Linked DNA regions of Homo sapiens: regions 1, 2, 3 and 5 are each linked to region 4. The links are contacts of gene promoters, found by promoter capture Hi-C in human tissues and cell types (Jung and others, 2019). All regions are on one chromosome and are shown on one strand. Each heading gives the region's core, a stretch centred on a gene start or on the middle of the fragment in contact. The rest is flanking DNA. Distances are from core to core; before and after follow the strand shown. Region 1 overlaps SLC26A5 (solute carrier family 26 member 5). Region 2 overlaps SLC26A5 (solute carrier family 26 member 5). Region 3 overlaps PMPCB (peptidase, mitochondrial processing subunit beta). Region 4 holds the start of FAM185A (family with sequence similarity 185 member A). Region 5 has its middle 7.9 kb from the start of PMPCB.

What was found. Contacts are between HindIII fragments. The study calls those that stand out against the background at their distance.
Region 1: a contact is called between a fragment that was not itself captured here and the fragment with the promoter of FAM185A in region 4, in 1 of the 25 tissues and cell types used here (liver).
Region 2: a contact is called between a fragment that was not itself captured here and the fragment with the promoter of FAM185A in region 4, in 2 of the 25 tissues and cell types used here (hippocampus and lymphoblastoid cells).
Region 3: a fragment that was not itself captured here is called in contact with the fragment with the promoter of FAM185A in region 4 in 2 of the 25 tissues and cell types used here (dorsolateral prefrontal cortex and thymus).
Region 5: a contact is called between a fragment that was not itself captured here and the fragment with the promoter of FAM185A in region 4, in 1 of the 25 tissues and cell types used here (neural progenitor cells).

What each region holds. Positions count from the first base shown.
Region 1 is chr7:103,403,747-103,406,446 of GRCh38, reverse strand. The region is part of intron 8 of SLC26A5 (solute carrier family 26 member 5); the gene reads left to right. Among named protein-coding and RNA genes, the nearest start is that of SLC26A5-AS1, 40 kb to the left of the region's middle. The HindIII fragment of the contact is 3,935 bases long and covers 1-2,700 here.
Region 2 is chr7:103,375,404-103,378,103 of GRCh38, reverse strand. SLC26A5 (solute carrier family 26 member 5) reads left to right here. Exons shown (of 20, transcript NM_198999.3): 18 at 305-505; 19 at 1,242-1,296. Among named protein-coding and RNA genes, the nearest start is that of PSMC2, 29 kb to the right of the region's middle. The HindIII fragment of the contact is 3,745 bases long and covers 1-2,700 here.
Region 3 is chr7:103,307,636-103,310,335 of GRCh38, reverse strand. PMPCB (peptidase, mitochondrial processing subunit beta) reads right to left here. Exons shown (of 13, transcript NM_004279.3): 7 at 2,628-2,700; 8 at 1,241-1,384; 9 at 1-21. Among named protein-coding and RNA genes, the nearest start is that of PMPCB, 12 kb to the right of the region's middle. The HindIII fragment of the contact is 4,844 bases long and covers 1-2,700 here.
Region 4 is chr7:102,747,631-102,750,330 of GRCh38, reverse strand. It overlaps FAM185A (family with sequence similarity 185 member A), which reads right to left and starts at 1,332. Exons shown (of 8, transcript NM_001145268.2): 1 at 673-1,332. The coding sequence starts at 1,123. It also overlaps the pseudogene RASA4DP. RefSeq lists silencers at 1,343-1,512, 1,553-1,642 and an enhancer at 1,315-1,609. The HindIII fragment of the contact is 9,642 bases long and covers 1-2,700 here.
Region 5 is chr7:103,288,179-103,290,878 of GRCh38, reverse strand. No RefSeq gene overlaps it. Among named protein-coding and RNA genes, the nearest start is that of PMPCB, 7.9 kb to the left of the region's middle. The HindIII fragment of the contact is 9,549 bases long and covers 1-2,700 here.

The DNA.
Region 1 (2,700 bases), core at 45-2,544, 660 kb before region 4:
GTCAGGGAATTCCCTCCCTTAGCCAAGGGAAGCTGTGAGGTACTGTGCTGTGAGGAACAGTGCATTCTGGCCCAGACACTATGCTTTTCTCATGGTCTTCACAACCCACAGACTAGGAGACTCCCCTGGGTGCCTACACCACCAAGATTCCCTTGGATTTCAAGCACAAAACTGGGCAGCTATTTGGGCAGACACTGAGCTAGCTGCAGGAGTTTTTTTCATACCCCAGTGGTGCCTGGAACACCAGTGAGACAGAGCCATTCACTCCCTTGGAAAGGGGGCTAAAGGCAGGGAGCCAAGTGGTCTAGCTCAGCGGATCCCACCCCTGCAGAGCCCAGAAAGCTAAGCTCCATTGGCTTGAAATTCTCACTGCCACCACAGCAGTCTGAAGTCAACCTGGGACGCTTGAGCTTGGTGGGGGGAGGGGCATCTGCCATTACTGAGGCTTCAGTAGGCGGTTTTCCCCTCACAGTGTAAACAAAGCCACCTGGAAGGTCCAACTGGGTGGATTCCACCGCAGCTCAGCAAAGCTGCTGTAGCCAGACTGCTTCTCTAGATTCCTCCTCTCTGGGCAGGGCATCTCTGAAAGAAAGGCAGCAGCCACAATCAGGGGCTTATAGATAAAACTCCCATCTCCCTGGGACAGAGAACCTGGGGGAAGGGGCAGCTGTGGGCGCAGCTTCAGCAAACTTAAACATTCCGGTCTGCCAGCTCTGAAGAGAGCACCAGATCTCCTAGCACAGCATTCGAGCTCTGCTAAGGGTCAGACTGCCTTCTCAAGTGGGACCCCCGTAACTCCTGACTGGGAGACACCTCCCAGTAGGGGCCAAAGACACCTCATCCAGGGGATCTCTGGCTGGCATATGGCGGGTGCCCCTCTGGGACAAAGCTTCTGGAGGAAGGAACAGGTAGCAATCATTGCTGTTCTGCAGCCTTCGCTGGTGATACCCAGGCAAACAGGGTCTGGAATGGACGTCAGCAAACTCCAGCACACCTGTAGCAGAGGGGCCTGACTGTTAGAAGGAAAACTAACAAACAGAAAGGAATAGCATCAACATCAACAGAAAGGACGTCAACATAAAAACCCCATCCGAAGGTCACCAAGAGCAAAGACCAAAGGTAGATAAATCCATGAAGATGAGGAAAAACCAATGCAAAAAGCTGAAAATTCCAAAAGCCAGAACACCTCTTCTCCTTCAAAGGATCACAACTCTTCACCAGCAAGGGAACAAAAGTGGATGGAGAATGAGTTTGACGAATGGACAGAAGTAAGCTTCAGAAGGTGGGTAATAACAAACTCCTCCGAGCTAAAGGAACATATTCTAACCCAATGCAAGGAAGCTAAGAACCTTGAAAAAAGGTTAGAGGAATTGCTAACTAGAATAACCAGTTTAGAGAAGAACATAAATGACTTGATGGAGCTGAAAAACACAGCACAAGAATTTCATGAAGCATACACAAGTATAAATAGTCAAATCAAACAGAAGAAAGGGTATCAGAGATTGAAGATCAACTTAATGAAATATAGTGTAAAGACAAGATTAGAGGAAAAAAAAAGAATGAAAAGGAATGAACAAAGCCTCCAGGAAATATGGGACTGTGTGAAAAGACCAAACCTACGTTTGACTGGTGTACCTGAAAGTGACGGGGAGAATGGAACCAAGTTGGAAAACACTCTTCAGGACATTATCCAGGAGAACTTCCACAACCTAGCAAGACAGGCCAACAGTCAAATTCAGGAAATACAGAGAACACCACAAAGATACTCCTCAAGAAGAGCAACCCCAAGACACATAATCATCAGATTCACCAAGGTTGAAATGAAGGAAAAAATGTTAAGGGCAGCCAGAGAGAAAGGTCGGGTTACCCACAAAGGGAACCCCATCAGACTAATAGCGGATCTATCTGCAGACACCCTACAAGCCAGAAGACAGTGGGAGCCAATATTCAACATTCTTAAAGAAAATTTTCAAACCAGAATTTCACATCCAGCCAAACTAAGCTTCATAAGCAAAGGATAAATGAAATCCTTTACAGACAAGCAAATGCTGAGAGATTTTGTCACCACCAGGCCTGCCTTACAAGAGCTCCTGAGAAAGCACTAAATGTGGAAAGGAAAACCCGGTACCAGCCACTGCAAAAACAAATGAAAATGTAAAAAGCATCGATACTGTGAAGAAACTGCATCAACTAATGGGCAAAATAACCAGCTAGCATCATAATGACAGGATCAAATTCACACATAACAATATTTTTTTTTTTTGAGACAAAGTCTTGCTCTTGTCCCCCAGGCTGGAGTGCAATGGTGCGATCTCGGTTCACTGCAACTTCCGCTTCCCGGGTTCAAGCAATTCTCCTGCTTCAGCCTCCTGAGTAGCTGGGATTACAGGTGCCTGCCACCACGCCCAGCTAGTTTTTGTATTTTTAGCAGAGACTGGGTTTCACCATGTTGGCCAGGCTGGTCTCGAACTCCTGACCTCAGGTGATCTGCCTGCCTTAGCCTCCCAAAGTGCTGGGATTACAGGCGTGAGCCACCGCACCTGGCCCACGCATAACAATATTAACCTTAAATGTAAGAGGGCTAAATGCCCCAACTGAAAGACACAGATTGGCAAATTAGATAAAGAGTCAAAACCCATCAGTGTGCTGTATTCGGGAGACTCATCTCATATACAAAGACACACATAGTCTCAAAATAAA
Region 2 (2,700 bases), core at 76-2,575, 630 kb before region 4:
AGTTAATGGAACTATTTTAGACTTTAGCAGAAAATGGATAGGATAACTGAGGAGAGTGGATTTTGTTGGACAAGAAAAAAAAGGAGGAGAAGGAAAAAGAGAGAAGTTGACTTAAAATGGAATGTTATACATACATCCTTTTTTTGTTCAGTTACAAGGCTAGAATATGACAAATATTTTACAAGGGGTCTGGTAGAGTCAGTAGCTTAAGAACACAAGAGCAGATTTTCCATTATAAATCTTTCTCACAACCAGAAATGTGAGTTGTTCATAAAATTCTGGTTTGGTTTAATTTTTGACACAGGATGCAGAAGTAGATGGAGAGGATGCTACCAAGCCTGAAGAAGAGGATGGTGAAGTAAAATATCCCCCAATAGTGATCAAAAGCACATTTCCTGAGGAAATGCAAAGATTTATGCCCCCAGGGGATAACGTCCACACTGTCATTTTGGATTTCACTCAAGTCAATTTTATTGATTCTGTTGGAGTGAAAACTCTGGCAGGGGTAAGCATCCTCTTGAACGAGTCATTTAATACCTCTATGCCTGGTGTCGTACTATCAGCATAATCAGGGAGGTGGGCTAGGCTCTCTTTTCAACAAAAGATTTATCCCCTTTTGATTATGGAAAATTTCAAAAATATATAGAAGTAAAGATTTTAGTATATTGAACCCCCGTGAACTATCACTCAGCTTCAACAATGATCAATTTATGGTCAATCTGGTTTCCTTTATAGCTGACATTCACTTTCTCTTGTTTTATTTTGAAACACATCCCAGTCATAACATCATCTGTAAATATTTTAATGTGTATTGCTACAAGAAGATTCGTTTTAGAAAACATTACTGTAATATGCTAGGCTACTCAGGAGGCTGAAGCAGGAGGATTGCTGAGCTCAGGAGTTCAAGACCAGCATGAGTAAACTAGTGAGATGCTGTCTCTAAAAAAAATCGTTTTTTATTTTGAAATTATAATATCCTTTAAGTTAATATAATAGTTTTATTGTACTTAAGTAAGATTTAACAGTATTTTTGCTACCCCTAATTATCACTGTCCACATAAAAAGCAAAAGAGATACAAAATTATTTTTAACTGATTAGCTCAAAAATACATCATTATTGAAGCAAAGTAGCTCAAGTGAATGAATTAGAGTGTCTTCTATCACGAAAAACATTGGTAAAAAGAGACTTTCATCTGGCACAGAGTAAAGAGAAACTAAATTTTATTTCAACATTATTACAGATTGTAAAAGAATATGGAGACGTCGGTATATATGTATACTTAGCAGGATGCAGTGGTGAGTATACCTCTAAGATGGGGTGAAGCTTAATATTTTAGTTTTGTTTCTCTTATTTAAATAATTGCACTTGGAAATGTCCTTAATTTTAATTATTTTATAAAAATGAAAATTGTTCTTCTGAAAAATCACTCTAAAGCCAGCTTTGAAATTAGCCACATGGAGGCATTCATATTACAAGTTACTTGTGACAACCCTCCTGAACTGGAGTTGGAGGAAAGGAGCCAATAAGCCATCATTTATTATAATATTAATGGCTGCTATAAATATAGTAATTATAATATATACATGACCACAGTAGCAATTATCTAATGGCTGCCATAAACAGTTACATATAATCATTCAGGTTGCTTGTTTCTCTATCCAATCATTTGGGAATACTTTGCCTGCTATTTTTGTTTTATATTACATTTTGGTTAAAACAGTGCTTGAGGCCGGGTGTTGTGACTCACACCTGTAATCCCAGCACTTCGGGAGGCCAAGGCAGATGGATTGCCTGAGCCTAGGAGTTCAAGACCAGCCTGGGCAACATGGCAAAACCCCATCTCTACTAAAAATACAAAAATTAGCCAGACATGGTGGCGCATGCCTGTAATCCCAGCTACTCGGGAGGCTGAGGTGGGAGGATGTCTTGAATCTGGGAGGCAGAAGTTGCAGTGAGCCAACATCACGCCACTACACTCCAGCCTGGGCAACAGAATGAGACCTTGTTTCCAAAAAAAAAAGAAAGAAAATGATTTTTTAGAAAAGGAGCCCGGCGTGGTGGCTCACACCTGTAATCCCAGCACTTTGGGAGGCTGAGGCAGGCGGATCACCTGAGGTCAGAAGATCGAGACCATCTTGGCTAACACGGTGAAACCCCATCTCTACTAAAAATACAAAAAATTAGCCCGGCTTGGTGGCGCATGACTTTAGTCCCAGCTACTCGGAAGGCTGAGGCAGGAGAATCGCTTGAACCCAGGAGGCGGAGGTTGCAGTGAGCCGAGATTGCACCACTGCTCTCCAGGCTGGGTGACAGAGTAAGACTCCGTCTCAAAAAAGAAAAGGAAAAAAAAAAAGTAAAACAGTGCCTGAGGCTGGGTGTGGTGGCTCACACCTATAATCCCAACACTTTGGGAGGCCAAGGTAGGAGGATCGCTTGAGCCTAAGAGTTCAAGACCAGCCTAAGCAACATAGTGAGATCCCATCTTTATTTAAAAGAAAAAATAATAATAATTTTAAAAAGTGCTTGAAAATGAAATCTTCATAAAGATGCTACTTTTCACCTGTAAGATTGCCAAAAATCAAAAATAAATGACACCATGCTCCATAGGCATATGATGGGAAAACAGGCTCTCTCAGACATTACTGACGGGAGCACAAAATGCAACAGCCCCTATGGAGGGCAGACTAACATTAGCTTTC
Region 3 (2,700 bases), core at 1-2,500, 560 kb before region 4:
GGCCAGCTTGCTAGATAAATTCTGCAAGGAAAAAAAAATTCCAAGAGAATTTTAATTATACATGTCCAAAATACAGAAAGAAAAATGGAGTGTGTGGAAAATAGTGAATATCCTTAGAGGCTGTTTCCTAGTTTTATTCAACATCTCAGTAGTAGAGTTAAAATTCAGTATGACTAAGAATTGTGTTTATTATCTCACTTACCCAGTGCACCCCCTGGAGAAATTCATGTTATAAAAGCAATGAGTCCTTATAATTAATGTAGTAGCTATACCTACTTCTAAAACTAGATGGCTATTATCAACCCAATTTCTAGGACTCTTGGCTACATACGCTTAAAGATTCAAAGTTATATTGCATATGAAGCTTAAGATTATTTAGATGAAATGTATTTTGGAGAAATCTATGAGTAAAGACAAATCTATACAATGTGTTTTGAAATAATTCCAACTTACAAAAAAGTTGCAAAAACAGTACAGAGAATTTCATTTATCTAGATTCCCTGTTATTTTACCATGTTTGCTTTATTCTCTTTATACAAGTTTTTTCAACTGAGTTTTAGATGTGATGCTTCTTGCCCCAAATACTTTAGTATGTACTTGTGAAAAACAAGGAAATTAATGTTCTTACATCACCTTGGTATAGTTCCTCAGTATCTGTGGAGAATTGGTTCCCAGATCCCTGTGGATACCAAAATCCACAGATGCTAGAGCCCTCATGTAATATGGTATATGTAATATTTGCATATAAGCACATTCTCCTGTATACTTTAAATCATCTCTAGATAAATACCCAATCCATGTAAATGCTATGTAAATAGTTGTTATACTATATTGTTTAGGAAGTGACCAAAAAAAAAGTCCATACATGTTTAGTACAGATGCAACCATCCATTTGTTCCCCAAAATTTTCCACCTATGGTTGGTTGAATCCACGGATATGGAACCCACAGATATAGAGGGCCTACTGACTATTAAAATTAGGATATTAACATTGACATAGTACTTCTAGCTAATTCTGTCCTTATTCAAATTTTGCCACTAATAAACTTTGTGGCAAAGAAAAAAAGAAACTTTTTCTGGCCCACATGCAATCCAGGATCAGTTTATATTTTTAAGTCAGAATTCACAGTACAAGACTCTATTCTGCCACTTTAAAAAAGGATTCTTACAAAGAACTTATATTTAAGAAAACATGATAATCTTCCATCTGTTATGGAAAATTTCTTTTAAAATCACTTACCATTCCTCCCCCAAAAGAGCGATCCCAGTTGCCAATCAGCGTGTTTGCAACCATGAGACAGATTGTATCTGGATGTGCCCAACCAACAGCTTCAACAGCTATTGCAAGGTGCGCCAAAGGCATCTTGTCATCCCTCACACGAATCTAGTTAAGATAAAGCAGGAGGACCTCTAGTTAAGATTAACATTATATAACATGCTTATTAACAAGGAAAAAATCACCAGTCCCATTAACTGCAAAGTTAAAATGCACACCAGGACTCTATTTTGATTTTTTAACTATCAGGCCTCATTACATTGTTGAGTTTAATCTAGAAGAATTAAGACTAAATTAGGGAAAAATTACTTTTCCCAAAGCATTTTACTACAGACAGGCACCACATGGTTTACCTGGTCAAAAGGGTTGCATCATTTCACTGGTAGAAATCAATCCTTTGTGTTTGTCAATCTGAATTTGTCTTTTTCTTTCTTTTTTTTTGAGACAGAGTCTCACTCTGTCGCCCAGCCTGGAGTGCAGTGGCACCATCTCGGCTCACCGCAACCTCGGCCTCCCATGTTCAAGCAATTTTGCCTCAGCCTCCCGAGTAGCTGGGACTACAGGCATGCACCACCACGCCCAGCTAATTTTTGTATTTTTAGTAGAGACGGAGTTTCACCATGTTGGTGAGGCTGGTCTCAAACTCCTAACCTCAAGTGACACACTCGCCTCAGCCTCTCCAAGTGCTGGGATTACAGGCGTAAGCCACCGCACCCGGCCTCAATCTGAACTTTTCTATTGAAATGTCATATTGACGTTACAGGTTTATTTTTGTACTGCCAATGCTACAGTTCTAGGCAGCTGCCAATATCAGGGCATTTTCCAGATACTACTTTGAGCATCATCCTCAACATGGCAAACTAAGCAGCTAGTGGGGCTTAAAGCTAGTTGATAACTAGTAGATCCCCTGCAAGTTCTGGCTCTAACAGTTACTACCCCCTCCCAAAACATACTGTGGGCAAAACTGAGCCAAGAGTAAACCTGAAGTGAAAGTCAAAATACGGGGTTTAAAAGATTACTTCCAGATATTACAATATGTAAATTGGCATAGTGCCAAAGAAAAAGCACAAAAAGACCAAATTATAAACTGCTCTTAAAAACTTTGCTTCCTTTCAGACTAGAATGGAGAAATTTAAAAACAAAACAAAAAAAACCTTGCTTCCTTAGGAAGAAAAATAGGTGGTTAAAGAATACGGAAGAGGAAGGAATGTAAGCAAATGAGTACATCCTCTTCCCTTTTCCTATTATTCCATTCTTTTCCTACTGGAAATATGCACATTTTGTTTACTTATGTGTAAATACAACACAAGGAATCCAAAAGGCTAAATACTAGCTGGAAGGCTTGCCCTACCTCACTTCCTGTGAATTTGCAGGGAGGCAGAGCTGGTATTTCTCCTTTGTGTGTGCATAAAGAGTCACCGAAA
Region 4 (2,700 bases), core at 83-2,582:
GTCCCAGGAAGAATGACAGTCTGGGGAGCCCTTCCTAGAAAAGTGTGTGTACACAGTGGCTTGCCATTTAGGAAAAGCTAAGAAAGGTATCTTGCAGGCATTATTATTGAAGCTTCCTAGGCAGGCTTACCATGTGTTTTTCTTCAAAGCTTGCTACTCATGGAAAACTTAGGCCAAAAAGAATGGAAATATAACAGTAAGAAGCTGGGCGCCCGTCTAAAACCAAATACTCAAACCAGGTGATACCCGGAACATCCTATTGACAGGGCTGTTTTGGGACAGACCCCCAGGCTGTGAGCAAGATGAAATGTAGATGGACTGCCATACCATTGAATGAATTGTCAAGAAACTTCAACCTTGAAAAATAAGCCAGTTTGCTAATGACAACGGGATAAAGGAGAACACAAGCGGCTCCAGAAATAGAATTTGACCTGGATTATACCAAATCATGTTTCCATTCGATGTATAAAATTTCTATAATTGGGAACCTAATTTTTAAATACTACTCGGACACTCAAGAACAGAACAGAGGAAAAGGTGCATTTCCGAAGGGGCCAACTGTAAATTAGGTTTAGAGAGCCAGGACCAATTAAAAGTGCACGTCGACCACATTTATTAAGTTCACTGTGCGTTCCCTGGGACCCAAACCCGTTTTCACTTCACTTCACTTGCCAAACTTCAGGGGCGCGTTCACCTCCACGGACGCCTGGGGGTGGATAGTATCAGACACAATGGCCATCTCCTCCAGATCCTCGTCGTACTTCACCTGCAGGCCGTCCAGGCCCCGCACGCCGCCCTCCACGCCGCACACCGCGACCAGCACGCGGTCGCCATCCGGGTAGGTGAGGGGGTCCAGGGGCCTCACGGCCAGGTGGCACGGGAGCCGCGCCCGCAGCCGACCAAACGGGCTCACCTGCAGTGTCCACTCCTTCAGAGTTCGGCGCCCCGGGCCAGGCGGAGGGACCTCAGTCTCCGATCCGGGCCAGCGCTCGCTCCCACCTGAGCTGTACGGCCTGGCTTGGCAAGCCCAGCAAGCCCAGCGCCCAGCGCCAGCCCACAGTCGGACCTGACGGAGACAGAGACGGAAGCAGCCAAGCTCCCAACCTGAGCAGGGGGCAAGCATGGCGCGCCTCTCTCGCCAGTCCTCAGAACACTTCAGCCACAGGGAGGGTCACTTGCCACGGCCAATCGACTTGGCCACTGTGCCGCCTCAAGTCAAATAGGAGACGTAAGTCAGGGTTTGCTGAAACAAGAGCGAGCCGGTTGGCTTGACTAGGCGTTCTAAACATCAGCCGCGCAATCCCCAGGGGCAAGTTGGGATTTGAAAGCTCTAAACTCTGACCTGGACCCCTTGCCTAAGTCCACCCCCTTTCGCTAAGGCCGACGGGATAGGTAGTTCTAAGTCGCAGAGCTCTGCCTCTTAGAAACCACATTTCCCAGGAGGCAATGCGCAGGGGAGCACGGGTAAGAGGGTAGGTGTTAGAATCGCTGGAAAGGCGGGCGCCCTTTGTCTCAAGACCATTGGCTATTGGAGGGGCGGTACATGGGAGTCCACTGGCCAATGGGAAGCACGGAAGGGGCAACGCGGGTAAAGCTGCGTGGTCACCTTGGATACCAAGCACGCGACTTCTTGGTTGGAGAGGGTGGAGCTTTGGAGTGAGACCCAGGACGCCAAATCCCAAAGAGAAAAATAGGAGCCTAAATAAGGATCAGGACCAAGGGAAGGGGTAAGAAACTGCGCTTTTTAAGATGACAACTAGGTGCAAACTAGGAGTAACCTCTGTGGATGTCAACATCCAAGCTTCACTAACTTAGTGAGGGCATCTCCAGGGCATGGAGAATGCCTTGGTAAGAAAGTAAAGAGCAAGATTGGTGCTTTTTGAGGGAATTGCCTCTTTGGAAGTGTATTCCCTCCTATATTCCAAATATAGGAATAGAGTACTTGCTCCGTCCTGACCCTAAGTGACCTTACTTTGGGTTTTAATTTGCTCACTTTAAAAATGTAGATAATAATACCTTCCTTGCCTTGCCTCAAAGGGTTTTTGTAAGGATCAAGTAAGAAAATGGATGGGACCGTGGTGCACAGTCTACAAAATTACCGTGTAAAGAACTGTATTTTTATTTCAACGTACTTAACATTGATTCTGAGTTACCAAGAAAATTATGAGAGATCAGAACTTGTTTTGAGAATAGCATTGATCTCTTTGACTACAAATGATCCTCAGTTTTAGAGTGAAAAAAAAAAAAAAGACACAAAAAAGAGAGTCACCATGGTGCGGTGGAAAGAGCAGGGACAAGGGTCAGGTTATTTTCCTGGCTCTGCCACTGCTTCATCTGTGTCACCTAGACCTGTTTCTTTAGTTTTAAAATGAAGAAAGATGGTTCTAAATGACCCTATAAGGGGTGTGTGTGTGTGTGTGTGTGTGTGTGTGTGTGTGTTTACCTTTTATAATTCTATAGGCAGTAAAATAATGGGAACAGAAAGATTTATTTTCTTCTTTTTTCTTTTTTTCTTCTTTCCTGCCTGGTTTCTCTCTCCCCCTCTGTGCCCCTACTTCCTCCTAAAATGTATTCCCTAAATTATTTAGCCAAGACACCTGCAAACACTAACATTTCATAAAATGCAAGTGCCTTAAAAAATAGAAGCCCTTACCCAAGTACAATGACCAGAATTCTTGGGGCTATCGTGATAGATAGACT
Region 5 (2,700 bases), core at 194-2,693, 540 kb before region 4:
TCCTGGCTGATTTCACTAGTTTTGGGTGGAGAGCTCTTATCTTGCAGTAGAAATTTAATGGTAAAAGTATTTTTTTTAATTCCCATCAAATCTATAGGGTGGCATGAAACTCTTCTATTATTGATCTCTTTTTAGTTTTAGTTTGTGATAGGCAGAATTCTAAGATGTCCCCCAATAATCGAAGCCCCTTTATAATCCCCTCCCTATGGAATCTTATTCCTATGATTAGGTTACATTATACAGCAAAGGTGAAGGGATTTTTCAAATGTCAAGAAAGCTCCTAATCAATTGACTTTAAGTTAATCACCTAGGAGGTTATCCTGGGTGGACTTTACCTAATCAGTTGAACCCTTTGTTAGAAGATCTAGAGGTAAGAGATTCTCCCTGCTGGCCTTAAAGAAGCAAGCCACCAGGAGTTCTACAGCTGCCAGGAAATGAATTCTTCCAACAGCTTTGTGAACTTTGAAGAGGACCCCAAACCTTAGATAAGACCCCAGCCCTGGCTGATGCATTGATTGCAGCTTTGTGAGACCCTGAGCAAAGGACCCATTCTCGGACTCTTGACCCATGAAAACTGTGAAATACCATAAGCCACTAGGCTCATGTTAACTTATAATGCAGCAATATAGACAAATACCCTATTTAATCTCCAAAAGTGTCTGGGTGCAGTGGCTCATGCCTGTAATCCCAGCACTTTGGGAACCTGAGGGGGGCAGATCCCTTAAGGCCAAGAGTTCAAGACCAGCCTGGTCAACATGGTGAAACTCCACCTCTACTAAAAATAGTAAAATATTAGCTGGATGTGGTGGCAAGCATCCGTAATCTCAGCCACTCGGGAGGCTGAAGCATGAGAATCACTTGAACTCAGGAGGCAGAAGTTGCAGTGAGCTGAGATCGCGCCACTGCATTCCAGCCTGGTCAACACTGCGAGACTCTGTCTCAAAAAAAAAAAAACCTCCAGAAATGTGGCAGTCTGTTGCAGAGTGGCTGTTTTGTTACCTTGCTTTTATTGCCAGTCTCTTTCAATATGTCCTACCAACTAGACAAGGATAGACAGAAAAGAAAAAAAAAAAATACCACTTAATATCAGGTTCTAAGCCTATATTTTGCATATCAAAGGAGTATAAATAGAAATTCCTACCTTGATCTCCCATTTCCTGCCCAAAATATAAGTTTTTCCCATCTAAGACAATTCATTACCAGATTCTTTTTTGTTTGTTTGTTTGAAATGGAGTTTCGCTCTTGTTGCCCAGGCTGGAGTGCAATAGCACAATCTCAGCTCACCACAACCTCCGCCTCCTTGGTTCAAGTGATTCTCCTGCCTCAGCCTCCCGAGTAGCTGGGATTATAGGCGTGCACCACCACGCCCAGCTAATTTTGTATTTTTAGTAGAGATGGGGTTTCTCCATGTTGGTCAGGCTGGTCTCAAACTCCCGACCTCAGGTGACCCACCTGCCTTGGCCTCCCAAAGTGCTGGGATTACAGGCGTGAGCCACCAGTCCCGGCCATCAAATTCTGTTAATTCTACCTCTAAAATGTATCCCAAGTCCATCTTTTTCTTTCAATCCCCATTCCACACTAGTTAAACCACCATCACTTACGATCCAGACAATTAAAACCAGCCTCCTACCTGGCTTCTCAGCATTGCCTCTTTCCCTCCTCTAACTCATTCCTGACCAGTCCAAAGTGATACTAAAATGCTGGGGGGAAGATTACATCACTTCAAAGGTGCCCCATTGTCCAAAATCCAGAGTGATCTGGGCCCTCAAAATAATCTTTTTTTTTTTCTTTTTTGAGACAGACTCTTGCTCTATCACCCAAGCTGGAGGGCAGTGGCGTGATCTCGGCTCACCACAACCTCCGCCTCCTGGGTCAAGCAATTCTCCTGCCTCAGCCTCCCGGGTAGCTGGGATTACAGGCACACACCACTGTGCCTGGGTAATGTTTGTGTTTTTAGTAGACAAAACACTATAGGGTTTCACCATGTTGGCCAGGCTAGTCTCAAACTCCTGACTTCAGGTGATCCACCTGTCTCGGCCTCCCAAAGTGCTGGGATTACAGACATGAGCCACTGCACCTGGCCTCAAAATAATCTTGACCTGTTTTTCTCATGCGCAATACAAGTGGGTTTATTTGTTCGGTTTGTTTGGAGTTTTAATGGATCTTTTCCTTCCTATTTTTATTGATATTTTTAAAAAATAGAAAATAATGTGCTTTCAACAAACTCATAGATCTAATAAGTGATTATGGCAAGGTTGAATTATAGCAAGGTTAGAGGATACAAGATTAATACTTTAAAAGACCGTTGCTTTCCTTTATACCAGAAATGAACAATTGGAATTTGAAATAAACAGATATATCATCACTAATAAAAGAAAAAAGAACAAATAGGTTTAAACAAAATATTCACAAAAGCTATATAAGGTAAACTACAAAACTTTGACGAAATAAATCAAAGAAGATCTAAATAAATGGAGAGATAGTCCGTGTTCATGGATAGGTAGACTCAATATTGTGAGGATGTCTGTTCTTCCCAACTTGATCTATATATTCAATGCAAACACAACCAAAATTCCAGCCAGTTACTTGTGGCTAAGAACAAACTGATTCTAAGGTTTATTTAAAGGCAGAAAACCCAAAATAGCCAACACAGTATTAAAGAGGAAAAACAGTCAGAGGACTTACACTACCCAACTTCAA